Linked DNA regions of Homo sapiens: all the other regions are linked to region 1. The links are contacts of gene promoters, found by promoter capture Hi-C in blood cells and fetal thymus (Javierre and others, 2016). All regions are on one chromosome and are shown on one strand. The core of a region is centred on a gene start or on the middle of the fragment in contact, and the rest is flanking DNA. Distances in the headings are between cores, read along the strand shown.

The links. The method cuts DNA at HindIII sites, captures the fragments that hold promoters and counts their contacts. A CHiCAGO score of 5 or more calls a contact.
Region 2: a contact is called between a fragment that was not itself captured here and the fragment with the promoter of ATP2B3 in region 1, in 4 of 17 cell types (non-activated CD4 T cells, total B cells, activated CD4 T cells and 1 more). The highest score is 6.6, in non-activated CD4 T cells.
Region 3: a contact is called between a fragment that was not itself captured here and the fragment with the promoter of ATP2B3 in region 1, in 14 of 17 cell types (M1 macrophages, total CD8 T cells, non-activated CD4 T cells and 11 more). The highest score is 12.1, in M1 macrophages.
Region 4: a contact is called between a fragment that was not itself captured here and the fragment with the promoter of ATP2B3 in region 1, in 1 of 17 cell types (neutrophils). The highest score is 6.5, in neutrophils.
Region 5: a contact is called between the fragment with the promoter of PNMA5 here and the fragment with the promoter of ATP2B3 in region 1, in 2 of 17 cell types (total CD8 T cells and activated CD4 T cells). The highest score is 5.3, in total CD8 T cells.

Annotation. Positions count from the first base shown.
Region 1 is chrX:153,515,818-153,519,404 of GRCh38, reverse strand. ATP2B3 (ATPase plasma membrane Ca2+ transporting 3) reads right to left here and starts at 1,763. Exons shown (of 22, transcript NM_001001344.3): 1 at 1,530-1,763; 2 at 854-973. The HindIII fragment of the contact is 7,787 bases long and covers 1-2,874 here.
Region 2 is chrX:152,928,620-152,932,471 of GRCh38, reverse strand. ZNF185 (zinc finger protein 185 with LIM domain) reads right to left here. Exons shown (of 25, transcript NM_001395254.1): 13 at 3,811-3,852; 14 at 696-800. It overlaps LOC105373372 (a long non-coding RNA gene), which reads left to right. Exons shown (of 3, transcript XR_007068369.1): 2 at 522-1,497; 3 at 1,586-2,217. Among named protein-coding and RNA genes, the nearest start is that of ZNF185, 32 kb to the right of the region's middle. The HindIII fragment of the contact is 4,438 bases long and covers 369-3,852 here.
Region 3 is chrX:152,975,682-152,979,318 of GRCh38, reverse strand. No RefSeq gene overlaps it. Among named protein-coding and RNA genes, the nearest start is that of PNMA5, 17 kb to the left of the region's middle. The HindIII fragment of the contact is 177 bases long and covers 1,628-1,804 here.
Region 4 is chrX:152,810,757-152,814,270 of GRCh38, reverse strand. No RefSeq gene overlaps it. Among named protein-coding and RNA genes, the nearest start is that of CETN2, 18 kb to the left of the region's middle. The HindIII fragment of the contact is 1,089 bases long and covers 937-2,025 here.
Region 5 is chrX:152,992,838-152,996,683 of GRCh38, reverse strand. PNMA5 (PNMA family member 5) reads left to right here and starts at 2,568. Exons shown (of 4, transcript NM_001184924.2): 1 at 2,568-2,651. The HindIII fragment of the contact is 6,257 bases long and covers 1-3,493 here.

The DNA of each region.
Region 1 (3,587 bases), core at 514-3,013:
AGGAAGTGGGGCTGGTCTTTGATTATTACGATAACCTCTCCCCGCCTCCCTGCCCCACCAGGTTCATAGGAATGTCCCTAGCCATCTGCTCATGAAGGAAGGGGCCTCAATTCAGGGCTGAATCCCTTCTCCTCTTGGGGGCCTCAATGATCCCATCTGAAAAATGGGGACAAAAATCCAGGCCTTGCCTCTCCTGTTCAGTGAGTCTGCAGATTCAGTGAGGTCAAGGTCATGAATATGCCATGCAGAAACCAGGTGCCCACTCTGTGCCAGGCCTGTGCAAATGAAGAGCCAGTCCTTGCCTTAAGATGGTCACTGACTAGTGAGGGGCAATGGCAGGGGGTGAGGGCACAGATCCTAGTGGGCAAAGGAGGGGAGGAGGTGCAGGGGGTGCCTGCCAGACTGGTGCCCAAGTCAGCCAGGGGAAGTCGGCTGACGTTTAGGGTGCCAGTGGAATTCAGGATGGGGGCCAGTTGGGGACAGGCTGGACTTGATCCTTTAGCAGGCAGGGACTCCTTTGAGGTCGGAGGCCCTGGGCTTCATCTTTGAAAGTTATATGACCTCGCCAGGAAATGGCAAGCATCTCGTTGAGGAATTCTGGTCCCTTCCCTGCCCCTTGAGTGAGCGAAGGAGCATTTCCACAGTCTCTCCTAAACCCTCATGGAGCCCTCACCGCGGGCTCTCCAAGACTCCCTCCAGTCCTGACCTGCCCCGGCGCCATGCCCCTGCCCTGCCTCCCACCCCTCCTCAGCCGGCTGGCTGAGCCACCAACCCCCAGAAGGGCCAGCAGAAGGAAGGACACCAGGTCACAGAGAGAGAAGCCCATCGTCTCAGGCTCTGGGAGATGCCGCACCTGCCATTCCAAATTCCAGAATCTTAAAGCCAGAGCTTTCACCCGTGAGAAAACGCAGGCGGCCACAGGAAAAGCTGGCTGGCCAAGGTCACACAGGCGAGGAGGGGGAGACAGCCGTTCCTGGAGGGATGGAGAAGTTACCTAAGTGCGGCCCCGGGCGGCTTCTCGTGGGCACTGCCCATGACCGCGGTGGGGTCTGCTGGGCAGCCGCGTGGGCGTGCGGGGAACGGTGCGGGAAGGCGAGAGGGGAAGGATGATACAGTGTGAGGGCGCGGGGGGGAGGGGGTGCCCGAGGCTCCGGGAAGGTGCGTGCGCACTGGCGGGCTCCCGGCCCAGATCCCGCGCCCCCGGCTGCGCCCACCCTGAGCCCCGGCCCGCAGCCCCCAAGGGCCTTGTTCCTCAGACACGGATGCGCGTGCGCGCGCGATGCGGGGCGCAGGGTGCAGGGTGCGGGGCGCTGCCCGCCGGCCTGGGGCCCCGGGGTGACGCGCGGCCGCAGTGCCGCAAGGACACGCAGGCCCGGCGCGGGGCTCAGGTGCCTCGGGCGGGGACCCGTGTCCCCCTACCTGCCGCCGCACCACCTGCCGGGTCATCCTCCCATCCCCACCCGCGCCTTGTGCCCGCGCCGCGCCCGCGCCCACCCCGGCGGCGCCCGCGCGCCCAGAGCACCACTTACCCGGGCATGGGCACGGCCGCCGCCGCGGCCTCGGCTCCGGCGGGCGCTGTCGCTGCGGGCGGGCGTCAGGCGGGCAACGATCCGCTCCAAGGATGGAAAGGCCTGGGCACGGGGCGGCCTGGCCGGCGGCGCGGGACGCGACCCTCTGCGGCGGGCGAGGGCTGCGGCCGAGTGCTCCCCACGCTCTGCACCGGCGGCGGGCGACGCGGCGCGCTCGGCTCCAACCGCAGCTCTGAGCGCGGAGGGAGGGAGGGGGGAGGGGAGGGAGCTGGGTGAGGAGGAGGGAGGGAGGAGGGAGCGGGCGCGGGGGGCGGTGCGCGGCGCAGGGGCCTCGGGGCTCAGGAGCTACGCGCCCGGTGCGCGCCCTTCTGTCCCCAGGACGCGCGAGGGTGCCCGCCCTTCCTGGCCTGGCATTGCCCCCAAAGGGCACTGGCCGAGTGGGGGTGGGTGGGGATGGAAACTGGGGGACCATGGCACCTGTGAGTGCAGAGAGAGCACCCTGAGCTTGCGACTGAGGCTGCCACTACCTCTCCAGACCCTGCCCTCTAGGTGCGTCTCCCCAACAGTAAAATGGGGCACAGAGCCGGGTGGCTGATGTGTAGCGTGGGGTCCTTGGGTCTTGCCTCAGTGGACTCCAAGGCATTGGTGGTCTCCTGCAAACTCCATTACCTGTTGAGAGTACGGGCGTCCAAATGCGTCTTCCCAGAGGAAGCGGCGCTTACCGGAGATCCTCACCGTCGGTTATCACGGGAACACCACCGTTAGGCAGAACACAGAGACTGCACACAGGTGGGCACCAGAGACAGACACGCAGGGGCACATACATCCCCGGTGTGAGTGGAGACAGACACACAGACAAACCCCAGTGCAGACACCTGTCCACACCCACAAGCACGCGTTCCCACCTACCTGGAAAGAGACCCCCGTGCCTGCCGGTGGACCCCCAGGCTTCCCAGCTCCAGGGGCTGTGGAGGCCTCTGACCCCAGGGCCGGCCTTTGCGAGCATTCTGAGCAGCGAGCAGAGAATGCTCGCTGGGGCACAGGTAGAGGCTCTGGGCGGGAGCCTGAGGCAGGTGCAAGAGGCCTGGACGCAGCCTCAAATTCTTTCTTGCCTTGGACAAAGAGGGCCCTGGACATGCTGTGTGCCAGACCAGAGCTGAATACTGGGGACACAGCAGGGACCACAAAGCAGGGAGTGGCCGTCGGATGGCAAATGTGCTCACGCCGCTGGGGTCGGAGCTATGGAACCCCATTGATGGGGAGCCATGAAAGAGGCTGCTGGCGGCTCAGGGAAGGCCTCTTTGAGGAGGCACCACTGTGCTAGGGACCAAAAGGACAGAAAGCTTCTGCTGCCCCTGAGACCAGGGAACCGTCACAACCCCCACAGACTGCCCCTCCCTTCCACAGGAAGCAGCTGGTGCCGTGGAAAGCTGAGGTTCGCGCACGCACGCACACACACACTCATACACCTGGTCATGTGTGCGCTCACACATGCTTACTCACACCCACTCACATGCACGCACACATACTCACACCTGCTCATATGCATGAACTCATGCTCACTCACCTACTTACACAAACACACACTCACACACTCATGCACACACTCACAATCTCACGCAGACACATCCTCACAGTCATATGTGCTCACTCACCCTCACCCACACAAGCTCGGTGGCCCACACAGTTACACAATGGTTCACACATATTTACATGCTCTCACACCTACACAACTCACACACTTACCCAGTGAGCACACACATGGGCACATACATACACACACACTCACACACAGTTACTCACAGTCACACTCACACACACACTCCCCACTCACACTCTCACACATATTCATTTGCACACTCCCGCAGTCCCCTTCCACTCCAACTCTGAGGCAGCTTTTCCTGAGCCTGGGGCGTGTGCTCCTCCGGGCCCAGAGCCGCCATGGGGACACCCCCTTCTCACACACACACAGCCTGTGACTTCCCATGGCCCCGAATGGGAAAAATCAAGACTGAAGCAAGCCCCAATGATGCTGGAAACTTATCATGAGCTAAGTTC
Region 2 (3,852 bases), core at 1,338-3,837, 590 kb after region 1:
ACTGGCTACCAGGTTCTCACTGAAGAAATGCCCAGCCTGCAGCCACTGCTCACCAGACACATTTGGCACTGGTCTGGCTTGGAGGACAGGTCAGTGGGCTGGCTGTGCAGCGACTGGGGACAATCATCCCATCTGGACTCATCATCCACCGCTATGGCTCCAACTTCCCGTCCTGGACCCCTCACCCCTTGCCACAATGTCTCCCTTAGTCCACGGGTCATCCTGAAAGTCTCCGCTACATGCTCTATGGGGGCCCACATACTTTGGTCACTGACTCTCCCAGACTGCCAGCTTGGTGGCCTTGCTTTGCCCTGGCCATTGGCAGGGCTGCTTTGTCCTGCAGTAAAAGCACAGTGAGTGTGGAAGCTTCAGGGGAATGGAAGGAACTCAGCACAGGCCAGGAGCTGGGGATAGCCTGCCCTGGAGTTTGGTCCTGCTCTCTAACTGGCTCCCTGAGGAATCATGGCAGGGGCCTACCTCCCTCCAGGCCTCATTCATTCATTCTTTCTTTCTTTCAACAGATGTTCATTAAAGACCTGCAGTACCCCAGGTACTGGGGGAACAGTGGGAACAGGACCTTCCTGGCCCCAGCTGCATCCATTGACATTGCACCGGAGGCCATGGAAGTCCTTCAGCTGGGTGTATGTGGGCTCCGTGTTCTGGGAATGAAGTGTCTGCTTCCTGCACTGAGTTACCTTGCAGCATCTGTGTTGGGGGCCCTGAAAGCCTCCTCACCAGCCAAGTCCCTCTGGAGCTCTCTGGAGCAGGGGGCCTCCTTGTCTTTGTTGCCTGGGGAAGACCTATGGAGGAAAGAAATGGAAGTTAACCATGCAGCAGCCATTCACACTCAGGTGTGGGCTGTTACCTCATCCTCAAACGCCAGCTGTCTCCACGGAGCTTAAAACCTGCTACTGGGCCGGGTGCAGTGGCTCACGCCTATAACCCAGCATTTTGAGAGGCCGAGGCAAGAGGATCACTTGAGCCAGGAGTTCAAGACCAGCCTGAGAAACACAGCTAGACTCCATCTCCACAAAAATATTTTTGAAAGTTAGTCAGGAGTGGTGGTGTGTGCCTGTGGTCCCAGCTACTTGGGAGGTTGAACCTGGAAGGTTGAGGCTGCAGCGAGCTGTGATGGCACCACTGCACTTGAGCCTGGGCACACACAGCAAGATGCTGTCTTAAAAAACAGAACCAAAAACAAACAAACCCTGCTGATTGACAGATTGGCCAATTATCAAAACTTCATTACTAATAGCTACTGTTTTTTGTTTTTTGTTGTTGTTGTTTTATAGCTACTGTGCTGGGATTACAGGTGTGAGCCACTGTGCCTGGCAATAGCTACTGTTGATTGAGCATTTGAGCCTGTTCTCGTGACTTTATATGCATTAACTCTGCAAATCAACCCCAGGATATGGGCACTGTTATCACCCATGCCCATCTTTCAGATGAGCAAACGGAGGCACACAAAGCCCCTGTGATTTGCCCCAAATTTCACAGGTAATAAGAGGAGTAGCTGGGATTTGAGTTCTGGACTATATCCCTGATCCTAATCTCCTAATTTAAGCCCCCTTCTGTTCTCCTTCAGGTCCTCAGGGAGCCCCATGTTGTCAAATCCAGGAGAGACAGTCCCATCATTATTTCAAACCACCATTCAGTACTGCTGACCCAGTGGGCCACTCCAGCCTTCTCACCACCCCTCCTCCCTTGATCCTGTCAACACCACCTGCCTACCTCCCTGGCCACACACCTTCCTGGTCTCCGCCTTTTTCTCCTCCCTTTGGCGTGCTCCACCACTTGCTGGGCTGTCTCCTCCCCTCCCAAGGTGTCAACTGCCACCCTTGAAGCAGGGATCTCCACTTGTTCCTGCCTCTCCTTTATACTGGCCTGCACACCCACTAACTCCCAACTGGCCCTCAGGAGGCCCACTCTCAACATGGCGAGAAGAGACTGCCCTCGCCCAGCTGTCCCCAGGAGGGCTGGCCAGGTGGCTGCCACCTGCATACTGAGGTCGGTGCCCAGCTTCCATTGGCTCACCATGAGCCCCATGTAAAGCTAGTTTACGCTCATGATTTCAGCTCTATTCTGTCTGCATATAACGTGGAAATCTCTTGAGCCCTAATCACTCTCTCAAACCTCAATCACAAACCTTAAAATACCTCCCTCCTGGAAATTTTGACTTCAATGCCTACGAATAAACTCGTCAAATGAGTTCACTCAGCAAATGCCAAGTCTTTCCATCACCCCTCTCTGTCCCCCTGCTCCCTGCCCCAACTAGTACAATGAGCTATGGTGCAGAAGGTGGAAGGTGGGAGTAGGGCAGGCTGAGCGGATCTGCCTGCTCTGGACCATGTGACCTTGAGCAAGTTACTTAACCATTCAGGGTCTCAGTTTCTTAATCTGTAAAATGGGCATAGTGATTGTATCTACATCCATGCAGAATGGATGCTGCCATGCAGAATCGACAAGCCCTCAGATGCTGCCTGGGGAAGAAACTCAGGAGAAGGACATGACCCAGAAGACAGGACATTTGAGGTGGAACAGAAAGATGAAGAGGGGAAAGGGCATCTCAGGCAGAGCCTCCAGCCTGCACAGAGAAAGGCCCAGGGAGGGAGGAGCCTGCAGGTGGGGCCAGGTACTGAGTTCAGGCTGCAGAGCATAGTGGGAGGGGCTTTGCAGGGCTTTCTGCAGGGGGCTGGCATAACTACTTCTGCCCTTTGGAAACATCACCCAGGTAGATGTGGAAGGGAGTCCAGGGATGGGACAGTAGGAAACGGTCGCAGACAACTGGGTGAGTAGCAGTGGAGGCCTGGGCCAGGGGCAGAGCAATAGGGATGGAAACATCTCTAAAATAAAGTGGACAGGACTTGGTGCCTTGGGGGCAGAATTAAAGTGGGAGGAGCCAAGGAGGAGGGTAAAGGGACCTAGAGATCGCTCAGGACTCATCTTGGATGTCAATTCCTCCAGGAAGCCCTCCCCAAGCACTCCCACCCACCACACTGTTGAGAGGCCTCTGCTCGAAGTTCCTGCCACCCCAGGGATTAAGGGATGACCTTCAGTGTACACTCCCGCTTCTCTCCCCAGTCCCTGGCCTTCACAAGGTAGGGGCCCAGTCTCCCTGCTCGGATCTCTCCTAGCCTCCACCCCAGCCCCCGAATCCTGCCTGCATGTCACCTGGCTGTCTGACCCCCACCCCAGGGCAGAGGCTGAGCCCCTCGTGCTCCCTGCTGGTTGTGGCCTCCTTGACCCACCCCTCCCCAGCACAGAGCCTAGTGGCATGGAGAGCTGTGGACTCTGACCCAGTGACCCCACTCTATTCCCAGTGGCCCTCTCACACAGGCAGGGCAATGGCCTCAGTGGCCTTCACGGGCTCCTTAGACCCAATCCTCCTCCCACCCCCACCAACATCCCCAGCACGGCTGACTGGTCCCATCTTCAGCAATTGGCAGGGTTGAGCTGTCACTTCCCAGGGGCTCCTGGCACACAGCATCTCTGGCTGACCTCATTCATGCTCATGTCGGCGTCTGCCTCCCCCACCAGGCAGATGGCAATTCCAGCCAGGGGGTCCTGTTCACTACTGTGTCCCAGGGTCGGGCCTGTGCCCTTACACAGACTAAGCGCTTGCTCCATAATGGTTTTCTGAGTGAAAGAATGAGATGGGGCAGAAAACCCAGGTCGACCATGCCTCCCATCAACCTGTTGGCCCTACAGTGGCAGAGCCGGCCCTAGGCCTCATCATTTGCCACCTGAGGCTGCTGCTTCCATCTCTAGAATGGTGTCCAGGGAGCCAGGACAGCAGCAGGACCCCCATACCTCATGCCTTCCACGTCTGGGGCCACCAGGCGGAGTCCTGCC
Region 3 (3,637 bases), core at 467-2,966, 540 kb after region 1:
ATCATCCACATGGGGGATTAGGGGACAATATGTTTATGGTGAAGGTGGGGAGAAATGGTTTGCCTCTGGATCTGTTTGGCAGGGAGAGTTAACAGGCTAGGCTGATGGGCTGGAAGTGCAGTGGGAGATCAGCAGGTGATGTGTAGGTTTTGGTCTATGCAAGCTGAAGAATGGGACTGCCATTTACGGAGCTGTGGATGGCAATGCATAGAGCATGGCTTCCATGGTTGAGTATGAAATGACAATTAGACTCCCCAGGTGGAAATGAGCTGTGGGAAGTTGAAACACAAGTCTGAAGTTCAGGAAGATGATGTGGGCTGGAGCAGCTGCAATTCCAGAAGGAGGCAGTGTATACTGTATCTGTTGAAGCCTGGACCCCAGTGATACAACGCAGTGAGTGCAGATAGAAAAGCGAAGGGGTCTAAGAACAAAGTCCTAGAGTACTCCAAAGTTGAGAGAATGGGATGATGAGAAAGAACCAGCAATGGAGATAGAAAAGGAGTGACCAGTGAGGTGGAAGGAAAGGCAGAATGGGCCTAGAGGCCTAGCAAAGGGAATGGACCTGATATGGTTTGGCTCTGTGTCCCCATCCAAATCTAATCACGAATTGTAATCCCCACACGTCAAGGGAGGGAGCCATAATTCCCACATGTTGAGAGAGGGAGGTGACTGGATAATGGGGGCAGTTCCCCCCATGCTGTTCTCGTGATAGTGACTTCTCAGAGATGTGATGGCTTTATAAGCGTTGGCATTTCCCCTGCTTGTACTTCTCTCTCCTGCAGCCTTGTGAAGAAGGTGCCTGCATCCCCATCACCTTCTGCCATGATTGTAAGTTTCCTGAGGCCTCCCAGCCATGTGGAACTGTGAGTCGATTAAACCTCTTTCCTTTATAAATTACCCAGTCTCAGGTATTTCTTTATAGCAGTGTGAAAACAAACTAATACATGTCCACTGGACCAAACGCTGCTGCTCAGTCAATGAGGCCTGAGAAGTGTGCATGGGGTCTAGCAATGTGGTGGTCATTGGGGACCTTAGCACTAGCATTTTTAGTACCATGGTGGAGGTGAGAGCCTCAAAGAAGTGGGTTCAAAAGAAAATGAAAAAAGAGTAAAGACTTTCATGTTTATTTAGCACCTGCTTCCTATCATTGACCAGAAGGACAGGGTCTTTGATTTGTCACTGGTGTGTCCTCAGTGCCTACTATAGTGTGTGGCCCACAGTGGGTGCTCAGGAAATATTTAAATTATTAAATGGATGAATGAATGAATGATTCTTTCTCATCCTTCAGGTTTCAGTTCAGAGGTCACCTCCCCCAGAATACCATCCTTAGCCCCAGAAATCCAGGTGACACACCTCTGTGCTCCTTTAGCTATTGCGACTGAAATAGGATTGTTGCTTTGTCTTTCTCCCCATGAGATGGTCACTCCACAAATTCACAGATTGTCTGTCTTGCTCATTGATGTATCCCCAGTGCCCCACAGAAGGCTTGATGCACTGTACAAGGAAAGTGAGTAGCCTTGAGGGGTGGAGCTGAGTGCAGGGGAACATTAAAGAGGGCCTGGAAGATAGCCTCCTTTTGTATAGCAAACTCATACTAAAGCCAAATATCATGTCCTTGTGAAAAGCTTCTCTGTTAGATGTGGTGGTATGTGCATCTGTAGTCTCAGCAACTCAGGTGGCTGAGCCTGGATAACTGCTTGAGCCCAGGAGTTTGAGGTTGCAGTGAGCTACGACCATGCCACTGCTCTCCAGCCTGGGTGACAGAGTAAAAATCTGTCTCTAAAAACAAAAATGTAAAAAAGCTTCCCTGACTAAGTGTTGTGGGAAGTCAGGGACCCCGAACGGAGAGACCAGCTGGAGCCGTGGCAGAGGAACACAAATTGTGAAGATTTCATTTTAACATGGACATTTATCAGTTCCCAAAATTAGTACTTTCATAATTTCTTATGCCTGTCTTTAATCTCTTAATCCTGTTATGTTCAAAAAGAAAGGGAGAGATGTTGCGGGAAGTCAGAGACCCTGAACGGAGGGACTGGCTGGAGCCACAGCAGAGGAACATAAATTGTGAAGATTTCATTTTAGTATGGACATTTATCAGCTCCCAAAATTAATGCTTTTATAATTTCTTATGCCGGTCTTTACTTTAATCTCTTAATCCTGTTATCTTCGTAAGCTGAGAATATACATCAGGTCCACTCAGAACCACTATTGTGTTAACTGTACAAACTGATTGTAAAACATGTGTGTTTGAACAATATGAAATCAGTGCACCTTGAAAAAGAACAGAGTAACAGCGATTTTTAGGGAACAAGGGAAGACAACCATAAGGTCTGACTGCCTGTGGGGTCGGGCAGAATAGAGCCATATTTTTCTTCTTGCAGAGAGCCTATAAACAGACGTGTGCAAGTAGGGAAGATATCACTAAATTCTCTTCCTAGCAAGGAATATTAATAATTAAGACCCTGGGAAAGGAATGCATTCCTGGGGGGGGAGGTCTATAAACGGCCGCTCTGGGAGTGTCTGTCTTATGAGGTTGAGATAAGGATAGAAATACGCCCTGGTCTCCTGCAGTACCCTCAGGCTTACTAGGATTGGGAAACCCCCAGCCCTGGTAAATTTGAGGTCAGACTGGTTCTCTGCTCTTGAACCCTGTTTTCTGTTAAGATGTTTATCAAGACAATACATGCACAGCTGAACATAGACCCCTATCAGGAGTTCTGATTTTGTCCTTGCTCTGTTTCCTCAGAAGCATGTGATCTTTGTTCTGCTTTTTGCCCCTTAAAGCATGTGACCTACTCCCCATTTGTACACCCCCTCCCCTTTTGAAATCCTTAGTAAAAACTTACTAGTTTTGTGGCTCAGGTGGGCATCACAGTCCTACCAATATGTGATGTCACCCCCGGAGGCCCAGCTATAAAATTCCTCTCTTTGTACTCTTTCTATTTCTCAGCTGGCTGACATTTATGGAAAACAGAAAGAACTTACGTTGAAATATTGGGGGCGGGTTCCCCCGATAACCAAGCAGCCCAGAGTAGGTCACTATATTATAGCATATAGGTCAAGGCTGCAGTGAGGGCCTTGACCCTGTCTCCAAAACATACCCTGTATGTTTTGTTCAGAGCACTTATCACAACAGTATTTTGTTGTGGGATGTTTGATTTACTCCTCTCCTCTTACACTGTGAGCTCCACAGAAATACAAACTGTGTCTACTTTACTGGGGCCCCCACGTCTGGCACATGGGTAGACATCCAATCAATGCTTGTTGAGTGATTAAGTGACCAACTGGAACATCAAGGTGCTGATCAAAAGAAGGCATCGATGGGCAGAAGACATTTGTGGGAGGAGATACTGAAGCAGGGGGATCTGCCAAGGGCACTACAGGCAGAGGACATGATAAGGAGGTGATCTGGCAGCCAAGCATTATGCATGCCACGTTGCAGCAAGCTCACAACTGGACAGCTAGCACAATGCGGAGCACAGTGTACAGTGGGCCTCAGAAATGAAGAGCAATGTGCAGCAGACTTTCAGAGAGAGGGAGAGGCAGTTCTCAAGCAGGGTGCATTATTCAGAGAGGCTGTGAAGGCAGAGGGCAGAGTGGACAGTGGTCACAGGCAGTGACCGCAGCTGTGCAGGGA
Region 4 (3,514 bases), core at 232-2,731, 700 kb after region 1:
GCTAGTGAAGGCTGGAGTTTGCCCTCTGGATTTAGCAACATAAGCTCATTGACCTTAGCAAGAGCAGTTTGTGTGGTGTGGTGGGAGTAGAAATAAGATTGCCGTGGCTTAGGATTGAAAAGTGGCTGAGGAAACAGAGGGCCACATGCAGACGTTTTGAGAAATGTGACCGTAAAAGGGTGGAAAGAGAGTTAGCATGGTAGCTAGTGGCCATGTGGGGGTGGCAGTGGGAGAATTTTCTTTTTTTAATGGGAAAGACTTGAGAATGTTTGATTGTTTAGATGAAAGAAAATACAGTAAGTAAGAGTGTGGTATACTACCAGGAACGAATAAATGGACTATTGGAACAGAAGAAATAGTCTTGAAACAGGCTTATGTGCATATGGCAATCTGGTTTATGGTAGGGGTGGTATTAAAAATTGATGTGAAATGATAGGCCGTTTCTGAGACAGACAGGCATGCACCTATGTATGTGGTAATCTGTGTATATTGTATACTTTCATTTTTCCAGAAAGGATTTAAAACAGCTTAAAAAGATGAATTCTATGCAATAGAGTAAGACAAGCGTTTAAAGAGGGAGAAAATGACGTGGGGACAATGAGGGGAAACATGCATTTAGGTTTTACAACTTTAAGTATCTCTTTGATGCTGACTGCTTTAAACGTCCGTGCTAAGCTGATGTTAAGTATTTTGATCAACTAGTGCTGTGATCTATTAGACTGATAATTCTTTATGTAACTTGCTCTGCAATGTCCCATTTAAGGCAGAGATTCATATTTATTCTGGACGTTGTTCTGAAAAATCATGCAGTTTCTGCTCTTTGCTCCGTGTACTGTGCGACAGCCTTTGACCACAAGCAATAAAACCTGACATGAACGTTAGACAGGCACTGACTGTTCTGGTAGCAGAAATAGCTTCTAAATCAGACAGCAAGCTTGGTTTCATTTTTATATAATCATATCTGTTCCTGACCCCAGATGGCACCCCATGAGCCATCTTCTGCTGTATTTACTCTGAACTCTTTCTCCTAAGCTGTTGGAAACCCCTAAGCCTTTGCTTATCCTTATGTCTACAATGTCCCTTTATTCCCTGTCTCCTCTCAGCAGACTCTTTACAAGATCTAGCTTACCTGTCTGTCACACACTCGAGGGGATGCTTTCAGGATTCCTCCATGCTGGATTTGTACTCTTCTCTGTGCTTCCCCAGCCCTTGTTCTCTTCATCATGGCACGGAAGCCTCGCAGCAGAGAGATGGGATTTTCTTTCTCTTTTTGTAAATAAAGATGGGAGTCTTGCTCTGTCACCCAGCCTGGAGTGCAGTGGCGTGACCTTAGCTCACTGCAGCCTCAAACTCCTGGGCTCAAGCAATCCTCCCACCTCAGCCTCCTGAGTAGCTCAAACTACTGTCACATGTCACCACGCCTGGCTAAAGAAGGTGGGATTTCTATTTAAAAATACAACTGCCATATCAACAAGAATGATGGTTCCATGGGAGTGTACATTTGTTAAATTTTTCACTAAGTTGGACACAATATCTGGGTAATTTATTGTATGTATGTTATACCCCAATAAAGCACCATTAACCTAAAATTGTTTTAACAAAAGAAGAAAGAAGAAAAATCTCCTTAACTATCTGCAGTTGCTTTTGCTTTTCAGGCGAGTAACATGGTTGTCCCTGGGTAGATAGCTCTTTGTTTAGGAAGATACCTGGCTGCCTCTGGGTTGAAATGAGGGAGTCACAGAGAGAGCTGAATTGCTCCTCCACATAAAGGCAACAGAATCTGTGATTTCCTGATGTAGCTACTTTAATAGTAAAGGAAGAATGTTCCCTTAGTGCTGGTGTTCATGAACCCCATGCACCTGGAACTCTGGTGTGTGACACTTATAAAGGCTTGTCATATTCACTCTTTTGTTTGGTCCTTAGGGTTAGGGTAAATGTTGATATGGCTCCAGAGTCCTTCTGTCAAAGGATCCAGCCACGGCAGTCCTCTTAGTCTAGGGCAGGAATGCAAACCACAGGGAAGCTTTGAGTCTGGGGTTGGGAGATCTGTGCCAGGAAGTCCCTGAGCCCACAGGGCAGCAGAGGGATGGGCATGCCTAGGAAAGGGATTCAGACCTTCTGAATTGGGCGAATTGGGGTGCAATTCCCCCTAGGCTGGTGGAGTGGAAAACACAGGCTTAGGGACAGATCAAGCTGCGTTCAAGTCCTGGCATGGCTGCCTACTGGTTTGACCCTGAGCAAGATAGTTAACCCCTTAAAGTCTTGGGCCCTTTCTCTGTGAAAGAGTCATAGGCTTTATTTCACAGGAGTGGGAGGAATGAAGGATGTTATACTAGTCTGCTCCAGCTACCATGACAAAGCATCACAGACTGGGAGGCTTAAACCATAAAAATGCATCGTCTCCCAGATCTGGAGGCTGGAAGTTGGAGACCAAGGTGTGGGCAGGGTTGGTTCATTCTGAGGCCTCTGTCCTTGGCTTGTAGATGGCCCACTTCTCCCTGCGTCCGCACATGGTTCTCCCTCTGCACAAGTCTGTGTCTGAATCTCCTTTTTTAACATGGACACCAGTCATATTGGATCAGGGACCACCCTAACGGCCTCATTCTATCTTAATTACCTATTTAAAGGCCCCATGTCTAAACAGTCACATTCTGAGGTACTAGGGCTTAGGAATTCAATATATGAATTTTGGGGGACACCAGATAGCCCCTAACAGGTGTTGTCCTGCTGTCACCTCCTCAGCTCCTATTCCAATTGTATTTTCTTAATGCTGTCTGCTTCCCTACGAGCCTGAGAGCTCCCTAAAGCCTGGATTTCTCCAGTTCTGAGTTGGATCCTTAGAACAAGTGAGGGAGCTGTGATTCCAGCTACCCCTACCTTTCTGCCACGGGAACCCCAGGAATGCCTTCCCACACTGAAGGCCTGTTTCAGTCTAGTTGCTGGTGCCTGAAAGCAGCTAAGTGCAAATGCATTAGCCCCTGAGGTGCACTTTCAGTCACGTGAACTTAGACTAAGTACATCTGCTCCCTACGGGTCAGCTTTCTCTCTTATAAAATAAAGGTTTTAGCTAGGACTGGCTATAAAACTTGTGGGGCCTAGTGCAAAATAAAAATTCAGGGCCCCTTGTTTAAAAATTATTAAGCATTTCAAGTCAGTGGCAGTAGAGCATTAATTCAAGCGTGCAGAGCCCTTCTAAGTGTGGGACGCTGTGTGACTGCTTAGGCTGCACACTCCTGAGACTGGCCTTCGTTCTAATCTTGGACCTTCTCTTGAAACCGAGCAGGTGTATACTGTGCGATAATCTTGGGAAAAGTGCTTTAGAAACAGCCAAGTGCTGGACTTGAAGGTTGCAAGCTTCCCAAAGTCTACTGTCTTCCTCTTCCTGGCATCCGTTGGGCTCATTTGGACTTTTCTAATCAGTTTGCTTACCCAGAGCACTCCCTCTTCATCCCCCTCTCAAGATCTCCTCATTCAATGCACAGCATCCTTTCGCTTGGCTATGGGGCTGGGTGCC
Region 5 (3,846 bases), core at 1,319-3,818, 520 kb after region 1:
ATTTTTGTATTTTTAGTAGAGACAGGGTTTCACCATGTTGGCCAGGATGGTCTCGATCTCTTGACCTCGTGATCCACCCGCCTCGGCCTCCCAAAGTGCTGGGATTACAGGTGTGAACCACCGCGCCCAGCCACAAGAGAACGAGCAGTTCAGTTTATCATTTATTAAGTAAAGAATGGCAATTTGGAGGGTCTCGTGTCTGGCATTGTCATACATAAACACGGGTGACATCCCCTAAGTCTTATCTAAGTCATATGGAAAGGAGGGTTCTTTGCAGGAAGCTGTTTTCTGGAACACAAAGGGCTGAGGGTTTCTTAACCTTCACTGTTTTCCAGGATCACAGGGCTCAGGAAAAATTCAACATTGTCACTATCCCCAATAACTTTTTTTAAAGAAAAGTGCTATGGTTTGAATGTGTCCCCCAGAGTTCATGTGTTGGAAACTTAATCCCCAATACAACTGTTGAGAAGTGGGACCTTTAAGAGGTGATTAGGTGAGGAGGACTCTGCCAGTGTGAATGGACAAATGCTGTTATCTCGGGAGTGGATTTGTTATTGTGGGAGTGAGTTCCTGATTTTTTTTTTAAAAAATGAGTTTAGGCCCCTTTCTTCTCTTTCTTTTGCTCACTCTTACACATGCTTTCACGTCTTGATGCCTGCATGCCAGGCCCTCAGCAGGTGCAGCCCCTTGATCTTAGAGTTCTCAGCCTTCAGAAACATGAGCTAAATAAATTCCTGTTCATTATATGTTACCCAGTCTCAGGTATTTGATTATAGAAGCACAAAACAGACTGAGACAGAAAAAAGAGAGAGAGAGAGGAAGCTAGTCTTCTAGTGAGAAATAGAATGAATTGAAGTATACGTCTGGCCAGGGGAGCACCCAGTAGCCCAGAGGTGACTGAGGCAGAACCTCTTTCCAAAACATCACCTTCTGTGATGTTGTGATACCAGGCAGCTAAGCAATGGCTTTCAGCACTATTTTCTCCTTGTCACATGAAGGAGATTGATTTAATGGGCTCTGAATTGTCTTTTTTTTTTTCCAGACAGGATCTCGGCCAGGCACGGTGGCTCACACCTCTAATCCCAGCACTTTGGGAGGTCGAGGTGGGTGGATCACGAGGTCAGGAGATCGAGACCATCCTGGCTAACACAGTGAAACCCTGTCTCTACTAAAAAATACAAAAAATTAGCCGGGCGTGGTGGCGGGCGCCTGTAGTCCCAGCTACTCGGGAGGCTGAGGCAGGAGAATGGTGTGAACCCAGGAGGTGGAGCTTGCAGTGAGCCGAGATCGCGCCACTGCACTCCAGCCTGGGTGACAGAGTGAGACTCCTTCTCAAAAAAAAAAAAAAAAAAAGACAGGCTCTCACTTTGTTGCCCAAGCTGGAGTGCAGTGGTGTGATCTGGGTTCACTGCCACCTCTGCTTCCCAGGTACAAGCGATTCTCGTGCCTCAGCCTCCTGAGTAGCTGGGATTACAGCTACTCAGCTACTCAGATTACACACCCAGCTGATTTTGGGATTTTTAGTAGAGACGGGGTTTCGCCATGTTGGCCAGGCTGATCTCAAGTGATCTGCCCACCTTGGCCTCCCAAAGTGCTGGGATTACAGGTGTGAGCCACCACACCTGGCTGAAGAAGGTGATATCTGCAAATATCTTTCTCAGTGACCATAAATTTAAAATGTTGTCCGCTTTTAACATATTTATTAAAACAGTACCAGAAAAAGCCTTTTCTTTTTTAATCACAGAGAAAGAAAAACAAATATATTCTGTCACTAAAGGTCCACAACTTCTGGCCCTGAAATGTAATCATAGGCTTCAGACCCTTGCTCCACACAGCCTGGGCAGGGATATGCAGCAAGTAACCTAGCTTTCAGTGGAACCATCCCTGCCTCAGATCTCTTCACGCATTTTTTTAAGATTACCAGGGGATTTGTGTGCACCTTGAAGTGTGCTACCTGTGCCGCACCCACACCCTTTTCTGGAACAGTACTTTCGGGCCGCTGCAAGCCGCAGGACCTTCCCTCTGTGGAAGAAACCTGCTTTGGGAAACGACAGGAAGCAGTTTGGGTACTAGGTGCGTAATGTTTGGTCGTGAAATCAGGAGAATAATGGGAGAATGGAATATTTTCAGTCATCTGGCTCTCAGTGAGCAGCGAAAAAAAACTAATGCCCTTGTGAAATGCAGGCAGTAGCTGTATTTTTTGCCCTCCTCCCCTAGAACAGTCCAATAAAAAATAAACGAGGGCTATGACTCGTTTATAAGGGCGCTCACGTGGCCTATACGTTGCACTGGGTGATTTGCACCCGGCCCTTCACCCATGGGCTTGGGACGCCACAGCTCCCCTCCAATGAGGAAGAGCCACAGTGGCTGCTGGGCCAAATGGCACGTGGCGAGCCTGGCTGCCACCGTCGTCGGCACGGGGGTGGGTGGGGTGAGGAACCACCTTGCAGGAAGTAGGAGGGTTTATGTCACCAGTGCGCAACCGTGAGCGGGCCGTGTGCAGTTCCGCTCATGGGGTAGGGGGGCGGTCGTCACCAGACAACCTCTTCCCGCCACAGCCTCGTGGCGCAGTCAGCACGGAGGCGGCAGCCGCCATAGACGTGTGGTGGTCGCGCTGCGCGGGAACTCCGGCTTGGAGGCACCTCCGGCAGGTACGGAGCTGGACCCCGGGCTCGGACAGCAACCCAGATTACGGGGGAACCCCCCAGTAACTCTTGCTATTTTCCACGGGGTCTAGGGGCTGGTGGCCATAGGTTTCCCTGGAGGCGGGATCCCACTAGATCACACCCAGCACGCCAAGGAATCCCTGCCATTTCCAGGCAGAACTTCAGGGAGACCTGGCCGGGCGCGGTGGCTCACACCTGTAATCCCAGCACTTTGGGAGGCCGAGGCGGGTGGATCACCTGAGGTCAGGAGTTGGAGACCAGCCTGGCCAACATGGGGAAACCCCGTTTCTACTAAAAATACAAAAAGTAGCCGGGCGTGGTGGTGTACGCCTGTAATCCCAGCTACTCAGGAGGCTGAGGCCGGAGAATCACTTGAACCCAGGGGGCGGAGGTTGCAGTGAGCCGAGATACGCTACTGCACTCCAGCCTGGGTGACAAAGCCAGACTCCGTTTCAGAGAAAAACAAACAAACTTCAGGGAGACCTATTCCACCCTTGACCTGCCCGGAGACACTGCAGTCAGGATAGTAGCTCTTGGCCCTTGCCCTTGAGGGAAAGTGGCTTCGAACCTTCCCCTCCTAGATTCTGCCTGCTTCCACTGATGTCGGTGGTGTGGGTGTATGTAGATAACCGGGTGGGGATTGGGGGGAGCAGGGGAATGGAGGTAGGGGATTTGGGGATATCAGTTAGACTTGCCTCGGGGTAGGAGTTGGACTTGGTGAGGGGGCAGGGCTTGGGGTAGGAGTTGGACTGTGGGTGGGGGCAGGGCTTGAGGCACGAGTTAGACTTGGGTGGTGGAAGGGGTTAGACTTGGTGGGGGGCTAAGCTTGGGGTAGAGGTGCAACTTAGTTATAGGCAGAGTTTGGCAGCAGGGGTGCAGGTTTTGAGGTGGGGCTTAGGAAGGGTTGCAACATGGCTGTAGGGGCGGAGCTTGGGAGGGAATGGAGTTTGCAGTGGGGGTAGGGCAGCAACCTTACCTTAGGATCCCTTCTGCCCTACCAGCAGCCCCCCTGCCCCCACCCCCTACCTCCCTCCTCACCTCCCACCCCTCTCACCATTCGTCCCCCGACTCCTCCCCCCGCTCCGCTCCCTCTGTCAGTTGAGCAGTTTCTTCTATCCCTGCACCAGGGTCCTAGTGAACACCTATGCAGAGTCTGAATTGGCATGGCCTGGGCAGGGAC